Regions from separate parts of the Homo sapiens genome. Here region 2 is linked to region 1. Evidence: promoter capture Hi-C in 16 types of primary human blood cells and fetal thymus (Javierre and others, 2016). All regions are on one chromosome and are shown on one strand. The core of a region is centred on a gene start or on the middle of the fragment in contact, and the rest is flanking DNA. Distances in the headings are between cores, read along the strand shown.

Region 1 (3,713 bases), core at 324-2,823:
TTAAGACAGGGTAAAAGACAGACATATTTTGTCCACATACTGTAGGCAATGGGGTTGGTAACTTATGCTTTATTGTCCATACCTACTAATCAAGTTTACATAATGTACCCTTCCTGAAATCCAAATCTCCAAATATTACACCATAATTAAAAGGATTTTTTAATGGTTCATTATTATCTACAGAATGAAATACAATTTCCTAGCATGACATCTAAGGCTATCTACAAACTATTTTCAATTTTCCATGACTTACCTTCCCTTAACTGCTCCCACTTACACCCTGTATCACCAGCAGGTTGGTTTTTGTTCCCTGAAAATGTTCTACAATTTTTGGTTCAGCTCCTTTGCTCTCAGTGTTCCCTCTATCTGTATTATTTCCTCTATACCACCATCCTCCCCAAACATCTATTAAAATCCTACTTAACATCCATACCTAGTTCAGATACACTGGCCACACATCCGTACGTGGTGGGGCCCTGGATACATCAAGGGCAAGATGATCCACTGGGACAAAAGTAGAAAAGTGACCCCACTTAGCCCTTCTTTAGAATCACAGGGCAGCATCTTTAGATTTTAAAGTTTCCTGTCTGCCTGTCTGGCATTTTGATTCTGTATCCTGTACCCACCCATTCTCCTCTCCCCTCCACCAGGAGATACTGTTGTTAATATATGAATAGCTACCGTTTCATAAGATTTTGCCACATATCAGCCACTATGCCAATTACTTTATAAACACTATCCCATTTAATCCATAAATTATTAACTAATACTCATATTACACCAATGGGAAAACTCAGGCTAAGTGACTTTCTTAGGATTACATGACTAGTAAGTGGTACTTGGAGTACACAAAACCAGGACTGTCTGAGTGTAAAGCCTGCTGTCTTTCACTAAGTTACACTGGGGCTGAGTGATTTCCCTGCCACTCAGGTGTCTTTGCTGTGGAGGAATTAACGGGTCTGAAGACTGAAGCTGGGAAGAAGCAGCAGGGAAGACTGATCTGAGCTTTCAGGGAAAAGAGTGAAGTTGGACTTTAAGGTTTTTATATTGTCAAGACAATTTACAAACACAGGAAGAGAAAGAATGACAAAGAGGAGAACTCCTAGCTGGAAAGAAGAGAAAAAAAAATTGGATGCAAGTAACTGCATTTATATATCTTGAGAATTTAAATAATCAGCAACAGTTAGAGGTGCAAATGCAACAGAAGCTAAAAGAAACTTAGTATCTGGAATAGTTGACAAGATAAAACCCCAAAATCTGAGAGCTGCAATCAAAGAGCCATCTTCTCTACTAAATTGAATTAGCTCAGTTATATAGCGCTTCTCAACAATAAAAAGTCCATTAAAGAACAGAAATTTAAAAATAAGTTTTACACACTATTAGTCTTCCAGTTTATATAACTTAATACTGTATACTAAGTTTTTATTAATAGGAAATGAAGGAATTCTGAGGGCCAAGCCATGTAGAAATAGCCTATAAACCAGACAGGCAGAGGGACCCAGCAGAGACTAGCAAAGTCTGTAAGTCATCACATTCCATCAGAAATATCCAGATGAAACCAGATGAAAAAGCACTTTAACAATACTCCTAAACAACTGCTAGGACCACGGAACTCAGAAACACAGCAAGGTAAGCAACGTGGATATTTCTATTAGTATTGATATAATACTCTGTTTCTCAGTAGTAGGAGGAATTTGAATTAGCCCGTCAGTCTTGAATCCTAACCATAAATAAAATAAAGTAAAAAAACAGCTTTGTTATAAGAGGATCCCATGACATGTTCCTTGTGATTTGGAAGGAACCTTTCCTGGTGCCTTCTCTGAAGACAGCAGAGAAGGAAGAAAATTAACAATTTCTAGGACTGATTAAGTCAGAGTGGAAGAGAAGCAGTAAAGACATCAATTCTAAGAAGGATTAAGGATGAAATGATACCTGTGTGAATGTGTGAAGTTTACATGGATAGTAACATTTCCTTCTATGTCATTAATATTAATATAGGCACTCAGTACCTATCTATGAAAGAATGAATGTGGAATCTAATACTGGTTAATGTATAGTACTTATACTCCTTCATAAATTATGTTGTATCTAAATATCTCTGAGCATTTGCTGTGTGTCTCCAAACAGGCTGTTATCGTCTTGAGGGCAAGGAACATTGTCGTTTTCAAATGCCTCAAGGGACACAGTAGAGGCTTCACCAGTGAGCACTTGATAAATGCTGATGAATGACTTTAATATTCTTCTTTCTGGTCAGAAACATTTTTTAAATGAATTTATATCAGAAAGTATATCATCACATCATGATCAATTTTTGTTTTAATTAAAGGCCACAGATTTTTATTTGAATTAAAGGAGACTCAGAACTAGTTAGAAGCTGTTATTTTCTTCTGAAAAGCTCCTGATTTTACCTATACCCTATTTCCACACTCCCAGATAAGGAAACTGTGCATGATGGCAAAACCCTGTTTGGACAGTGAAGAAAAGTGACAGCAAGAAGAAATGTAAAACCTCAGAGAGCACTAACGACTAAACATCAGAGGTTTAGACAGGGTCACGTTTTTCTTTTTCTTTCTTTTTTATTTGTTATAAGAAAAGTTCAAACATACACAGAAGTAGAGACAATAATATAATAAACTCCCATGTACCCATAACTCAGCTTTAAAAATTATCAAAACAAGGCCAATCTTTTTTCCTCTATAACCCTACCCCACTATTCTTTCCAGATTATTTGTGAACAAATCTCTGAGACCATTTCATTTCATCTTAAATGTTTTCAGTATGTATTTCCAAATAGGCAAGAACTTCTCTTTTTGAAATTTAACCTTACTCTTCCCAAATCAACAATATTTAAACAGGACCATCTTTGACTGGGAAATATACCAGCACTATGCTCAGTATCTGGGTGACAGGATCATTCACAGTAAACCTCAGCAACACACAGTATAGTCAGGGAACAAACCTGTGTATGTACCTCCTGAATCTAAAATAAAAATTGTAAAAATTTTATAGCAGGATACCCAGTATCCTGCTATAAAAATTTATTTGGGGTAGCACAGTAAAAGCTTTTGGAATGCAATTTACGATACATATCAAAAGTAATAAAAATTTAATTCCCATTACTTATGCCACTAATTATGTAATTCTTCTAGGTACTTATGCTGAGGAAATAATCCAGATAATGGAGGAAAAAAAATCTGTGGGTATCAAAATGCTCATTAGAATATTAGTGATAGTGAAACAATTTTAGATTTATTGAACCAGGGTAAAGACAGGGAATAGTATACGTAACCAATAAAATTTTTTTTTTTTTTGAGACGGAGTCTCCCTCTGTCACCCAGGCCGGCGTGCAGTGGCACAATCTCGGCTCACTGCAAGCTCTGCCTCCCAGGCTCATGCCATTCTCCTGCCTCAGCCTCCCAAGTAGCTGGGACTACAGGCGCCCGCCACCGCGCCCGGCTAATTTTTTGTATTTTTAGTAGAGACGGGGTTTCACCGTGTTAGCCAGGATGGTTTCGATCTCCTGACCTCGTGATCCGCCCGCCTCGGCCTCCCAAAGTGCTCGGATTACAGGCGTGAGCCACCACGCCCGGCCAAATATTTTTAAAGCTATAAATAGGGGAAAGTGTTAAGTGAATAAAAGATGAATTTTATTTATACTATTATGATAACTTTGTGAAGATACTTATGCATATAAACAAATTTTGAAAAAGAAT
Region 2 (3,713 bases), core at 478-2,977, 210 kb before region 1:
CAATTTACCCATGTAACAAACCTCCACATGTACCCCCTGAACCTAAACCTAAAATAAAAGAAAAATGAAAGAAAGAGTCAGAGAAGAGAAATGGAGGGATAATGGGTGACAAGGGGGAGTGGCAAATAGCCAACATTTCTACACATTGCTGTTCACGGTAGCCAAAGTTGGAGATGTCTATCACTACTTCCCCCAGGGTTAAATAAAACGTGCCAATATACTATTTTGCCCATAGATTTTTAAAATTCAAGTTGTTTATTTCTGACTGTGGAATAAAATAATTTATTCCTTCTTAAAATTTTTTAGTCATCAGAAAGCATGAGAACATTATGGTAAGACCCTTTCCAGTACCCCTAAAATCACTTTTACCTTTACACAATTAGGGCAGTCCACACCTGACAGGAAAAATGAAATCTGTTGGTCATAGCTTCCACATATCTGTAACCCATATCCTAGTCAAAAGCAGAATTCAATAAAATCTTAACAAATTTAACCAAATGTCATAATACATCATGGCCAAGTGGACTTTATTCCACATATGCAAATATGTTCAATATTCAAAAATCAACCAACATAATTTATCGAAACAACTGACTAAAGAAGAAAAATTACATAATCATATCAATTGACACAGAAAAGAGCATTAAACGACATTTAACTTCTATATATGATAAAAACTCTCAGTATACTAGAAATAAAGGGCAACTATTCCAACCTTATAAAGAGTATCTACAAATAATCTACAGCAAAAATCATGCTTAATGGTTAAAGGTTGAATCCTTTCCCTCTAAGATCAGAAACAAGGCAAGGATATCTATTTCCATCACTATTATTTAACATGGTACTATAAATTTTAGCCTTTGCAGTAACAAAGCATGAAAAAGAAACAAAAATAATACAAATTGGGAAATAAATGAATCTATGTCTATGTGCAAATGACATCATGTCTATATACAAAGTTCCAAGAAATCTCCAAAAAACCACCCCCACCAGAGCAGTTTAATAGGGTCACAGAATCTATGATAAATGATTAGTGCACAAAACTCAATGTATTTCTGTATATTGACAAAGAACAAGTGGAAACTAAAATATGTAATACTATTAACAATTTCTTAAAAGAAAATGAAATATTTTGGTATAAATGTAACAAAACATGTATGGGATCTGTAGTGAAAATTATAAAATATTGAGGAAAAAATCAAAGAAAACTTAAATACTTGGTGAGAACATACCATTTTCATGGACTGGAAAACTCCACATAATTAAGATATCAATTTCCCTAAATTTATCTATATGTTTATCATAATTTCCGTCAAAATATCAGCAAGTTTCATGTAGACAATTTAGAATATGACAAGCCTATTCTAAAATTTATATGAAAAGGGAAAGGCCCTAGACCTTTATTTTTCAAAATAATTTGAAAAATAAAAGTGGAGTGGGATAAATTACTCTTCTTGATATTCAGACTTACTATATAGCTGAGGTAATCAACAGAGTATGACACTGACAGAGAGATAGACACAAAGATTAATGGACTAGAATAGGGAATCCAGAAGTCGGCCCACACAAATATATCCAAATTAGTTCTTGACAAAGGAGAAAATGTTCAATGGAGGAAAAATTGCCTTTTCAATAAATGGTGCTGAAGAAACCGGGCATCCGTTGATGATAAAGAAAACCTGACCTATATCTCACACCTTATATAAAGTTAACTTATACAAAAACGAAGCATAAACTTGAATGTAAAATGTGAAATTTTAACATTTACTTGTTTATTTTTAGAAACAGGGTCTTGCTCTCTCACCCAGGTTGGAGTACAGTGGCTTGATCACAGCTCACTGTAACCTCAAACTCCTAGGCTCAAGCCATCCTTCTGCCTCAGCCTCTCGAGTAGCTAGGACTACAGGTATGTGCCACCACTCCCAGCTAAAATGTTTTGTAAAGGTAAGTTCTTGTTGTCTTGCCCAGGCTGGTCTTGAACTCCTGGCCTCAAGTGATTCTCCCACCTTAGTCTCCCAAAGCTGTAGGATACAGGCATGAGCCACTGCAGCTGGCTGAAATTTTAACATTTATAGAAAGAACGTAAGAGAAAGTACGTGGAACCTGGGACTAGTCAAGTTTCTTCTTAGACTCAACACCAAAAGTATAATTTGTAAGAGGAAAAACTGATAAATTAGCCCTCATCAAAATTAAGATCTTTGATCCTCCGAATATCCTGTAAAATGACAGAAGGGACAAGTTACAGACTCAGAGAAAATATTTGCAAGTCACATATCTGGCAAAGGCCTCTGAAAAACAGTTTGCAGTTAAATAAAAAACTAAACGTGATACTATCATATAGCCCAGCATTTGTACTCCTTGATATCTATCACAGAGAGATGAAAACTTATGTTCACACAGAAACCTGCACAGAAATGGTCATATTAGCTCTATTTGTAACAGCAAGAAGGGAGAAAAATCCCAGATGTCTTTTGATGTAACAAACTCTATTATACCATAGAATGTTTCTTAACCATGAAAATAAATGAACTACTGGTACATGCAACAACTTGAATTAATTTCCAGAGAATTATACTGATTTTAAAAATTCAATCTTAATAAGTTCATACTATGCAACATTCTTAAAATAACAAAATAACAGAGATATAGAACAGATCAATGGTTTTTTCAACTGTTGAAGAGGATAAAGGTAGGGGACAGTATGAGGGAAGGAGGTGTGGCTGTAAACAGGCAACACGAGAGGTCTCTGTGGTGATTAAAATGTACTATATATTGGTATATTGGTGTCAATATTGTACTATAGTTTTAGAAGATATTACCATTGGGAAAATTTGATTAAAGTGTATATAGGATCTCTCTTTATTATTGCATATGAATCTATAATAATCTCCAAATTAAAAAGTTAATTAAAAGTAAAAAATCAAATGGTATCTATGTTGCCATGTAATTTACGTAAACACAAAAACACAGAAATTAATACTACCCTATACCTCATGTTACCGAAAATTTTATATATACATACATAGTACACATATAGATAATACATGTATTATGTTATATATACATATCTATCATATATCTGTGTGGGTATATGAAGTGTGTATATATATGAATGTGTGTTTATACATACAGACAGAGATTTTATATATATTTATACACACATGCATATATACACATATTTACATATACATATCATGGTCTGGAAGCCAAAAGTCTTTGCATATGGGATGGGAATTGGTACGGGGAGAAGTGCCATTACCTGAAAATAAATATTTTCAACTTTCTGTCTCCAGCATCCTTAACCTGCACCTCTTGGATGAGCTACCTATAAAGCGTATTTTCAACACTGACTCTCAGAGTTCCCCTGTAGAATTAAGCTCTGGTTGGTCATGCACCCTTTATTAACTGACTTTCCTTTCTTTTCTCAGTTTCCCACTTCGCAACTGTTTCTTCCTGAAATCATCACCTCCCAATCAAACTTCTTGCACTGAAATCCTTATATGAGGGTCTATTTCTGAGAAACCCAAAATAGAGCATTTCTTCTATGAATCTAGGGGTTAAGTCTGGTAGGTTTGGAATAGTCTCTTCTCCTTCTGCTTGTTTCTGCACTTCATGTATCCTTATTAGACCTTGAGATTATGAGCTGTGAGGTCCCGTTCTGTTTCTCCATTTGCTTCGACCTAACAAGTAATGGGTAAAGTACCAGTCTAAGC

Evidence for each region. Contacts are between HindIII fragments. The CHiCAGO score rates a contact against its expected background, and 5 or more counts as called.
Region 2: a contact is called between a fragment that was not itself captured here and the fragment with the promoter of SMCO3 in region 1, in 1 of 17 cell types (neutrophils). The highest score is 5.6, in neutrophils.

The regions. Positions count from the first base shown.
Region 1 is chr12:14,812,042-14,815,754 of GRCh38, reverse strand. SMCO3 (single-pass membrane protein with coiled-coil domains 3) reads left to right here and starts at 1,573. Exons shown (of 2, transcript NM_001013698.2): 1 at 1,573-1,629. The region is part of intron 1 of C12orf60 (chromosome 12 open reading frame 60); the gene reads right to left. The HindIII fragment of the contact is 14,101 bases long and covers 1-3,064 here.
Region 2 is chr12:15,020,619-15,024,331 of GRCh38, reverse strand. No RefSeq gene overlaps it. Among named protein-coding and RNA genes, the nearest start is that of LINC01489, 21 kb to the right of the region's middle. The HindIII fragment of the contact is 4,908 bases long and covers 1-3,713 here.